Linked DNA regions of Homo sapiens: region 1 is linked to region 2. The links are contacts of gene promoters, found by promoter capture Hi-C in blood cells and fetal thymus (Javierre and others, 2016). All regions are on one chromosome and are shown on one strand. The core of a region is centred on a gene start or on the middle of the fragment in contact, and the rest is flanking DNA. Distances in the headings are between cores, read along the strand shown. Region 1 overlaps SAMTOR (S-adenosylmethionine sensor upstream of mTORC1). Region 2 holds the start of TMEM168 (transmembrane protein 168).

Region 1 (5,921 bases), core at 10-2,509, 140 kb before region 2:
TTAAAATGGCATCACATATATACTTGCTAACTTATTTTCTGTGCTTTGTATGTTTTAAAAAGGAGAATTAGGATAGAGTTATTGAGAAAAAATATTATTTTTATACACATCAAGTATATAAAAATCAAGTGGTCCTGGCATGTAAAAATGCATGAACCTTAGCACCACCTATTCATTTTTTTCACATATAAGTAATTCTTTATCTATTTGGTGGTGTTACTGTTCATTTCTCCTTGAGCTAATAAATTTTTCGAAAAGATCTGTGTACTGCTATTAAAGAACTTAATGGATATGACTGGACTGTCAGCTGCAAGGTTTTCTTTTGACAATAACACAAAATGAAAAAGCCTTTTTAATAAGCTTAAAACAATGGTCTCTAGAAAAATGACATTGAAATTATTGCTTTTCTGACCTTGGAACTCTTACTTTGAAAACAGTAACTATTGTGAAAAATTTAAATTCTGCTTTTGAGTGACTGCTATTTATTGAAAGCCATCCTCTGTAGTTTGAATTTTATCTTAGCAACTAATTTAATTTGTTTATACTTTTCATGTTTATTTTTTGAGCATGATGAAAATTTAAATATTTTGTCCTCCACTGACTGAGCACCCTAATTAACTTCTCTAATTTATACAAATTGTAAATCAAAAGTAGTCTTTGCTTTTCCATTTATACTTTCTATTGGGAAAATCACACCTGGTTTTAATAGACAGTATGTATAAATGAATGACAAAGTACCGTAAGGATGGCAGATGAGGGAAGTGTAAGATGATAAAGTGGGAGGCAGATAAACCCTCTTGAAGAAAATATGAATTCAGTTACATTTTGAAGGAAAAAAAATGCTGTACCAGATGGCAGGAGAGAGGTTAATTCATAAAGAAAGAATAATATCAACTCTAAATAAATAATTTAGGGATTCCATTGGTTCACTTTAATTTGGAACTGTTTTAGAGCTGCGCTTCTGGATGTTATGTAGAGCAAAAATACTTTTAAACCCATTTCCTTGTACTTGTTTTTTTACAAAGGCAGTTGCATTGTAATAATGTCTTAATCACAAAGTTATTAAAAATGGAACTCTTTTTAAATTAATGAATGTGCTATTCTTTCCTAGTTGTCATTGTCCTTTTATTAGTAGCTCCTAATTTATTTTTTAGTTGTGACATAGTGTTTTTGAAGGTGAGTTTAGTCAATGCAATAGTTATGGTATTATCTTGATATAAGATTCAAAATAATTTGGTTCATTGATTATCATATTGAACTTGGTTTGGCAACTTTAAGTTGGCATCACTCATGTTTAAAATTACGAATTTGTTTTTTAAAATGGGTGTTTGAAAAATTTAAATGTTATGGGATAACTAAATAGAAGTCATGTTAATGTGAACTTTGTTCTAGAATTTTGTAAGACAATTTAAGCTGTAGAGCATATATTTTTGAATTGTGCTTTCTAAAAATAATTTGTGAATTCTCTGTAGTTGGTCAAAGTAAAACGTGTGTACCCATTGCAGATTTTGTTCTCCACGCCTCCCTTTCCCCTTGTACCTGTCTCTTTCTCTCTCTCTTTCTCTCTGTCTCACTTTTACTTTAAGACACATGTATTTTTTCTAGAATGCCTATAAGAAATTGGTAAGAAAATGGGTTATTAATTACAACACTTTTGAGTCATTCACAGATGCCATTATATTAAAATAAATCATAAGGCTAATTATTAATTCATTGAGAGTTCTGATAGAACTTGAAGACCTAAATGTTTCTTATACTGTGTTGACTAGACCTTTCATGCAAACTTCAAGAAGTTCTAGCTCCTGATTTACCTTTTAATAATGAAAAAATGTTGTCCTTTTAAATAGTATATCTTTTAATTATTAGTTGACCTAATAACTAAGTGATAAAAAAATCCTTAAAATTGAGTTTTAATATATTGTTTGTATATGCAGTTTGAGTTGGTAGAGGAGTTTTAAATATTATACTGGGCACTGGTGAACCCTAACTTTTTTTGGATTTTAGAACCTGAATCATAGATTACTTTGAAAAACTTTGCTCAAAATTTAAATACCATTATTTTAAATACTATAAAAACAAAAAATGGGCTATTATGAAAATACTTTTTCTCATTCCTTTTTAATAATTTCATTTATTTTTAAAATTACCTTAAGCTTTCAGAGGTATTTTGGGAAGTGGAATTTTCTCATAACTAAAGGCCAGCTATGTTTTTTGTTCAATTTTATAACCACCAGACTTTTAACAAAATGTATACACAGTAGTCAGAGTTTGAAACATTTTTATTTTATAAATATATGAAATAAAAGTTTTGGGTCCAGGATGCCTTGCATAGGATATAGGGAACCCGTCAGGTTCATATCTCTTTTATAGCATTTCCACATTTTACATGTCTTCTCCCCTTTTTTTGATACCAATGCCTGCTCATTAACTTTATTTTCTGTAGCATTTAATATGGAGTATTTTTAAAAGAAAATCTGTTGAAAGAAGGAAAAATATATACAGGTGCATCTTCTACTGTCAGTTATATATTTAAGTATACTTCACTTTATGAATCACATCAATTTTCAGTGTCAACACACTTTGTGAGAGTCTGCAGACTCCTCAATGTTAATGAAATCGTTAAATTGAAGTTGTTTGGTTAATCTGAGTTGCATTAGCCTACAAAGTTTGAATTCTTCCTTAGGACTTCAGTGAGGTAGATAGCCATAAAATTTCATTAGGTGGTATTTCAGAGAATTTTGTTGAGTATGAAAAACTAGAGGTCTTCTAAAAAGTTGTAGGGTAGTAGGTTTCTGTGTATTTTCAGTTCTTTGCATCTTATAGCTAGTAGAATAATTATAGAGTAAATTGAGTTTCAAAGTATATAGTGACATGGCAAGGACTCTAAGAATTTCTAACAGATGCCTGTGTTGCCTCACATAGCACACCCTTTGTCCTCACCCATGGTAGATAGACACTTTGAGCTCAGATTCACTAGCCCTTACATAGACCCACTTTAAATGAGTGCTGCTTTTTTGTGTTCTGCCTTTCTCCCACACTGCTGGAGCCCACTGAGATTGTCCCCTTATTCAGTGGCTAAGTGCAGACTAGCAGTGCAGATTGTTAATAATTCTCAGTTAATGGGGATAAGAACTTAGAGATAAATGCCGTGGCCTCCCATTCTTTAGGTGCACAATTCTGGACACATTCGGTATGCTTTTCAGTTTGCCAACAGCAGCAACCTCAGTAAAGCAACCTTGTATTAGTTTTTTCTCCTTCCCATCTTTCTCTCTACTTCCTTACTCCTGTTTCCTAGGATTCTCACCCAATTAAACTACATGGACCCAGGTCTTTGTCTTAAGTTGTACTTTTTTTTTTTTTTTTTTGAGACAGAGCTTGGCTCTTGTCACCCAGGTTGGAGTGCAATGGCATGATCTCAGCTCACTGCAACCTCCACCTCCCAGGTTCAAGCGATTCTCCTGCCTCAGCCTCCCGAATAGTTGGGATTACAGGCATGCGCCACCACACCTGGCTAATTTTGTATTTTGTAGTAGACGCAGGGTTTTACCATGTTTGTCAGGATGGTCTCAAACTCCTGACCTCAGGTAATCTGCCGGCCTTGGCCTCCCAAAGTGCTGGGATTACAGGCAAGAGCTACCACACCCAACCAAGTTGTACATTCTTTAGACGCTAAGTCTTGCAGAAAGGAAAAGAAAATATGTTTGTTTTAAGCATAGCTTTTCCCAGGTATATGTTATCATAGAACTTTTGTTTGAATGACTCCTATTAACAGCACATATAATACATTTATGTATTTACTTATAATGTATAGATTCTATAGGGCAGTGAAACTTAAAAGTTCAAAAAAAGGCCTTCTAGACTTGATGATTCACCTTTAAAATTATACAATACCTTAATGAATGATTTAGTTTCAAATTTGATGGATAAAGTCAGAAATAGTGTTATGTACCATCATGGGTTTATGAAAGTGTCATTAATTAAAGTATTGTTTCAAACGCCTCACTTTCTGAAGTTCTATTTAGAGACTTGATAAATAACTACATCTGAAAGATGTTGCTAAAACTGAGGAAAGCAGTAGTGTGTTTAAATTAATATTCCAATACAGCAGGCAGGCCCTCAAACTGTATGTCTTAAATGAACTTCGGTATGTGGTATTCTCACAGGAGCATTTGTGTATACCTTCAACTTGAACATTGAATCTGCCTCAAACTTCACCCTTTTTTCTTTTTCCTTGGACTTGTGTTTTATGAATAGTTATTTTATCACAGAAGGTCATTTTCAAATGAAACTGCTGGAAAAAAACATTAATAGGAATTCAAGTCAAACTGCTAAAAAAAAAAGAACATTGGCCATTATATTAAAATAAATCATAATTTATTATGATTTAACATGATTGAACTCGAATACCTTAACATTTCTAAAACTGAGGAATTTTTATTTGAGAATCTAGAAAACTTTTCCCTGCTTTTTTTAAGTTAATAGTTATTGCCAGTCTGATATGTAACAAATTGAGAGGCCAGTCACTACCCAAATGTTAGTGATTAATGGAAATATTTGTATATGAGTACATAGCCCCCTCAAAAATAATTCTCTCAGGTTTAAAATCAGTATTCAGGCCAAGACTCAGACTGATATATAGTCATCTTAACAATGTGTGAGAGGGTTTGTTTGTATCCTTACTCTTCTTTCTTGATCAAATTAGAGGGCTAATAGTTTGGTTTTCAACTCAGTACTTATTAGACTGTAGACCCTAAAATACCCAGTAACTGGGATTAATGGAAAGATTTTCAAATTTGAATAGTTAAATATTGGTTGTTACATTTGGACTATTATAATTCCTTTTCTGTTTAAAAAAAACCTCTTAGATGTAAGAATTCAATAACCTTAAGTGGAGGAAGAATTTTAGTATAATTATCTCCCACATTTGGCTGTTCTATTTATAGTTTTTTTTCTTTTTTTTATTATTATTATACTTTAAGTTTTAGGGTACATATGCACAATGTGCAGGTTAGTTACATATGTATACATGTGCCATGCTGGTGTGCTGCACCCATTAACTCGTCCTTTAGCATTAGGTATATCTCCTAATGCTATCCCTCCCCCCTCCCGCCACCCCACAACAGACCCCAGAGTGTGATCTTCCCCTTCCTGTGTCCAAGTGTTCTCATTATTCAATTCCCACCTATGAGTGAGAATATGCGGTGTTTGGTTTTTTGTTCTTGTGATAGTTTACTGAGAATGATGATTTCCAGTTTCATCCATATCCCTACAAAGGACATGAACTCATCATTTTTTATGGCGGCATAGTATTCCATGGTGTATATGTGCCACATTTTCTTAATCCAGTCTGTCATTGTTGGACATTTGGGTTGGTTCCAAGTCTTTGCTATTGTGAATAGTGCCGCAATAAACATACGTGTGCATGTGTCTTTATAGCAGCATGATTTATAGTCCTTTGGGTATATACCCAGTAATGGGATGGCTGGGTCAAATGGTATTTCTAGTTCTAGATCCCTGAGGAATCACCACACTGACTTCCACAATGGTTGAACTAGTTTACAGTCCCACCAATAGTGTAAAAGTGTTCCTATTTCTCCACATCCTCTCCAGCACCTGTTGTTTCCTGACTTAATTTTTTTTTATTTTTTGTTTTTGAGTATTTATTTATTTATTTATTTATTTTTTATTGATCATTCTTGGGTGTTTCTCCCAGAGGGGGATTTGGCAGGGTCATAGGACAATAGTGGAGGGAAGGTCAGCAGATAAACAAGTGAACAAAGGTCTCTGGTTTTCCTAGGCAGAGGACCCTGCAGCCTTCCGCAGTGTTTGTGTCCCTGGGTACTTGAGATTAGGGAGTGGTGATGACTCTTAAGGAGCATGCTGCCTTCAAGCATCTGTTTAACAAAGCACATCTTGCACCG
Region 2 (5,663 bases), core at 1,033-3,532:
ACATCTTGTTTCCACAATGAAGAATTCTTTCTAATCCTTTATGCTAACTAAGGTACATCTAGTGCAGATTTACATGGTGATACTGGAAGCATCTGTGCATTCAACTCTGCAGTGAACATTTTTGATTAGTCTTTCAAATGCTAATTACCCACCCTGGGCTGTGCAGATTAACTTTCAAACATACACACATCTCACTGAAGTATTCTAAAGTATAAGGACAAGATAACAAGCATCAAAAATGGTTTTAAAGTCATAAGGCAGAAGACCATGTTAGAGGAAGATGATGAAAAACCACTGATTTAGTGAGCTGGTCTTAGTGCTAAGCAACTGAATGCAGCTGTAGCTAATTTAAGCAGAAAGTAAGTTTACTAGAGGACGCTAAGTAGTTCAAAGGATAGCTGGAGATTGAGGCTTGCACCTACATGGCCAGAATCTACCTTGGCTGTTACCGGTGGAAGGTGTCCAGGTTCTTGGCATCTTGAACAAGGAATTAGACAAAACGCACAAACAAAGCAAGGAAGGAATGAAGCAACAAAAGCAGAGATTTATTGAAAATGAAAGTACACTCCACAGGGTGTGAAGAGCCGGAACATGGGGCTCAAGAGCGGGGCGGCCGGGTTATAGAATTTTCTGGGGTATAAACACCCTCTAGAGGTTTCCCATTGGCCACTTGGTGTACACCCCACGCAAATATAGTGGCCCACAATCAGTCTGATAGCGGAAAGCAACCAATCAGAGCCTGAAGCGAAGTTACAAAGGTTACACCCTATGCAAACATTTAATTAGTTATGGAAAGCAACCAATCCGAGGTACTTTCAATTTTCCGTCTGCCACGCAGAAAAGGGCGGTGGTGGGGGAGGGGGCCGGGTCCCTTTGTTACTTAGCTGTGGAAAGTTGGGGCTTTCCTTTTGATTTAGTTCTAGAAAGTCAGCATGAATCAGCCGTAAGTTCCTTGCCTCCAGACCCTATTGTCCTGCCTCACAGCTATGTAGTACAGAGTCTGTCACAGGCTACCCAGAAATGTACACAGAGACTGTTAACAGGCTACAGAACAGATTGGGAAAGGGCTCTGGGGTTGTGACCCTCACCAAGCACAGGCATCTTGCATCTCTGACATGTTAATGGTGGATGCCAGCACTCTCACTACTGCCTCGGAAGCTTACCTTGCTGTTAGGGATGGGTTCTCGATCTCTACACTTGCTATACTCCTACAGGTGACCTGGGAGTGTAGCTTTCTGTGCCTTTTTTGACTCATGGCTTCCAGCGGGTACACATGATTAGTTAAACAAGTGTTCAGCATTTCAGCGGCAGCCATTAGACTCTTAACTCAGGTGGGGAATTCTCCAAATACGGAAGGGGATTCAAATGGGGGGCATAATAAATGTATATAAATGTCCATTAAAGGCAAGTTGAGTTGGAAGTGATGACAATATATTTGAGTAGAAACATCTAGCAGGTAGTTGGAAATGTGGCACTCGTGTTCCCCAGAGAGCTAGTTACAGATTTGGGAAGTTGAGTTGTGATTGCTTTTAAAATCAGGAGTCTAGAGAGAATCTAACTCAAAATTTTCATCCACATATGCAGAATCTCAATCTGAGAGTTGTTCATTCCTATAGATGTGCTGGCCACACCAACCCCCAACATCTATTATGAAAATTAGGAAATTCACACTCTATTATGGAAAATAGGAAAAATATATAGATAATACATGCAAAACAAGTGGGAGGAGAGAACTACGGATCGTGGAGAGCCTATTGCATATTATTATTTTACAAATATTTAAGTGCCAACTATGTGTCAGGCACTATGCTAAGGTGATTTAATGTTGAGCAAAACCCGACATGTCCCTGCATTTGAGGAACTGAAAGGTCTGAGGGAGGGCCTAAGGAGCTTGGGCCTTAGCTGGTTACAAAGCCATATATTATGCCATATATATTAATGAGCAGCAACGCCTCCCGCAGTATTTACAGCCCACGCGTGGCAGTCCTGTCCACCCTGTCCCCGTTCGGTCCAGCCCGAGGCGGTGGCCTAGATGCTTGATGGGCACTGTCAGCCTGATCTTTGGTGGTCTTCCCGCTGTCTGTTCTCAGCTGCTGATTCCAGGTCCCAGGAGTCGACTTTGGCTTGAGGAAGGCAGGCGCCTTAGGTGGGGCAGTTGACACTCGCGCAGCGCCTTGCTCACCTGAGTGTGTGGCGGCGCGCGGGTTTGGGCGGGGAGGGGGCCGGGCCTCGGGAAGGAGGCGCGCCGCGCAGTTTGACCCCGGCGGCGTTCCGTACCGTCGCGGATTTCGGCGGCGGAAACATGGCGGTCGCGGCCGGGCCGGTAACGGAGAAAGTTTACGCCGACACTGGCCTGTATTAGCGCGTATGGCCTCGGGCCCTCGTTCCCCAAGGCGTGCCGCCTCCCTGTTCTCAGTCGCAGGCTGAAGCCTTGTCTGCTCTCCTCCTTTTTGGTTTGGTTTTGGAACTGACTCCGAGGGTTGGGAGAGCGCGTTGGTGGCGACGGCCGAGTCAGGTAGGGAGAAATGGGTGGACGGCAGGGCGGCGAGATCTAGGCATAGACACTGCCAGGGCTCCGCGTGGTCCGGACCCCAAGCTCCGCCCAGTCGGCCTCCCAGGGCCGGGGTAGGATACCTGCCTCTGGAGGAGTTGACAGTGGTGGTTGGAGATTGGAGGGTGTGGGAGCGCCTCTCCGTATTTCGCAAGGGTTCCCCCTCAACTGGGCGCCACGTTGTGGTCGCGTTCTCCGAGGCAGAGGATGGTGGAGAACAGCCAAGCTCCTTGTCGGACCTCCCACATCTCGCTAGAAGGAGGCCGAAAGGGAGAGAAATTGCTGTTGCTGCTCTAGTGCTGAGGAGTTTGATATTCTAGATGACATTTTCCTCGTATGAGATGGCTCAAAGAGTTATCAGTAATTCAGAACTGAAGCACTGAAATTCCCTGTTTTTTCAGTGTAGTTCTTTCAGCCTTGACACTTCTAGATGGGACAGAGTTTCTGAGTGAAAGATAATGCAAGTGATACGGTATGCCTCAAGCCATTCCCTAGAGGTAGGACATGGAGAGAGAATTGGTTTGGAAGAATTTGGGTGAATTAAGTAAAGACTGGTGGAAAGCTGAAATAGAAACCAAACATTCATGGACTCTCCCTTAGTTCTACTAGTTATTAGTTGTGGGATATAGCTAAGTTCTGTATTCTCTTTAGGCATTAGTAAGTGTCCAATGGTGACTATTGTTGTTAAATGTAGTTATTTCTTTATTAGTCTTTATTTTTCAACAAGTATTTATTGAATACCTTCTTGATGCCGGATTTTTGCTAGTCACTGGGTGTACAGTATTGAAGACAAACCCTCAGAGACCTTTTGATCTAGTGGGAAATGCAGACATGAAATAAGTGATGGTATGTAACAGAGAAAGTATGGGGGTCATGTAATGGGGAGGGGGCAGGGATAATCTCTTAAGAAAATGATTTATCTGAGACCTGAAGAGTTGGAATAAGCCAGGTGTGAGCACTGGGGTGGGGCCAGGAGGAGGAAAAGGAGTGTACCTGGCAAGGGAATAGCATTTGTGCAGTTTGTAATTGAAAGGTCAGTAAGGTTGGAAAATAAAGTGTGAGAGGAAAACTGGTAACAGATAAGGCAGGAGAGTTATTCAGGCCCAACACGGAGTGCCTTATAAGGCACTGTAAGGAGTTTTGACTTTATTGCTAAGGGTGATGGGACGCCATTGGAGCATTTTACATAGTGGAGTGCTAAATTTTGGTTTTAAAAAGTACACTTCTTAGAGAGGGCAAGAGTGGATACAGGGAAATGTTCAACATGATGGTGGCCAAAATTGGGATGGTGACCCTGGGGACGAGAAGTAGAAACATTTAAAAAATGTTTAGGAAGAATAGTAGACAGGACTTGGTGAGGATTAAATGTAGATGATGGTGGAGAGGAGGGTTAGAATAGTATGTAAGGTTTTATGAAATAATCAGACTCTGGCAGTGATTGGTTAGCTTTTCCCATATGCATATTGACTCCTCTATGGTCCATTTTCATCTACCTCTGGAATAATTGTCCATTGAATCATTAGTGACGGCAAACCGATTGAAAAGGAATGTAATGTTTTTCTGTTATTCTCTAACTCAGGCTGTCTTTTGAAGAAGATCAGAATGGGGAAGAGTTTTGTAAATTAGCCATTTAAAAACAATCTGCCATGTTGATTTTGGTCCATAGGAAGGTAACTGCATATATTGCATTATATGGATGCACTGTACTTCACTAATTTTTTTTTTACATGTTTACATTTACTTTGTTTCCAGGTATTTACCTCTGTTAACAGTGCAGAACAGAGCTGGTGCTTCATTTTCTATAGGTAGATTAATATATGTGTGCACTTAAGTAGAGAGATAATAATCAAAGACATAGAAATAAATGACATTGCTTAGAGAAAGTATATAGTGAGAGAAAAGCCTAGGTTTGGGGTTGAACATCCAAAGGATGGGTTGAGAATGAAGAACCTTCAAGGAGACCGAGGAGGGGAAACCAATAAATTAAGAAAAAAAATCTGGGGAGTTAGTCTTTGGATGCCTGCAAAAAGGAATGGTTTGGAAGGTGAGAGAAGTCAACAATGTAAATTTGTTTAAAGAATATGCAGGATATGGCCGGGTGCAGTGGCTCACACCTGTAATCCCAGCACTTTGGGAGGCCAAGGCGGACGGATCACCTGAGGTCGGGAGTTCAAGACCAGCCTGACCAACATGGAGAAACCCCATCTCTACTAAAAATACAAAATTAGCCGGGCATGGTGGCACATGCCTGTAATTCCAGCTACTTGGGAGGCTGAGGCAGGAGAATCGCTTGAATCCGGGAGGCAGAGGTTGCGGTGAGCCGAGATCGCTCCATTGTATTCCAGCCTGGGCAACAAGAATGAAACTCTGTCTCAAAAAAAAAAAAAAAAAAAAAAAAAAAAAAAAAAAATGCCAGTCGCAGTGGCTCACGCCTGTAATCCCAGAACTTTGGGAGGCGAGGCGGGTGGATCACCTGAGGTCAGGAGTTTGAGACCAGCCTGGCCAATATGGTGAAACCCCGTCTCTACTAAAAATACAAAAATTAACTGGGCATGGCGATGGGCGCCTGTAATCCCAGCTACTCTGGAGGCTGAGGCAGGAGAATCACTTGAACCCGATAGTCAGAGGTTGCAGGAGAATCGCCTGAACCCGATAGTCGGAGGTTGCAGTGAGCCAAGATCCTGCCATTGCACTCCAGCCTGGACAACAGAGCGAGACTCCGTCCCCCCTTCCCCCTCCCCCCAAAAAAGAATATGCAGGATACTGAGTGAAAAGTACCCATTGGATTTAGGAATTTACAGGTCATTTCAACACTTAGCAGAGCAGTTGTGTGGTGGGAAACACCATTTAGTGGTTTGAAAAGTGAATGGGTAAGAAGTGAAGCAACTAAATACCAGCTGTCAAAAGGACACGAGATTGAGCTTCATAGAGGATATGGGGATGAGCAAGGATTGTTTTTGTTTTGTTTCTTTACTTTTTTGGTATTGTTTTTAAAAGAAACAGATTTATAAATGTTTAAATACTAATGGATAAAATAAAAGTGAGAGTTTGCAGAGAGAGGAGAGAGTCTGATGTTCTAGAAGAGGCGGAAGGAAAGATGCACAATATGGCT

Evidence for each region. Contacts are between HindIII fragments. The CHiCAGO score rates a contact against its expected background, and 5 or more counts as called.
Region 1: a fragment that was not itself captured here is called in contact with the fragment with the promoter of TMEM168 in region 2 in 2 of 17 cell types (naive CD4 T cells and monocytes); the score reaches 5.9 in naive CD4 T cells.

Annotation. Positions count from the first base shown.
Region 1 is chr7:112,923,239-112,929,159 of GRCh38, reverse strand. The region is part of intron 1 of SAMTOR (S-adenosylmethionine sensor upstream of mTORC1); the gene reads left to right. Among named protein-coding and RNA genes, the nearest start is that of SAMTOR, 14 kb to the left of the region's middle. The HindIII fragment of the contact is 1,793 bases long and covers 363-2,155 here.
Region 2 is chr7:112,787,012-112,792,674 of GRCh38, reverse strand. It overlaps TMEM168 (transmembrane protein 168), which reads left to right and starts at 2,282. Exons shown (of 5, transcript NM_022484.6): 1 at 2,282-2,515. RefSeq lists an enhancer at 1,894-2,023. The HindIII fragment of the contact is 5,754 bases long and covers 1,161-5,663 here.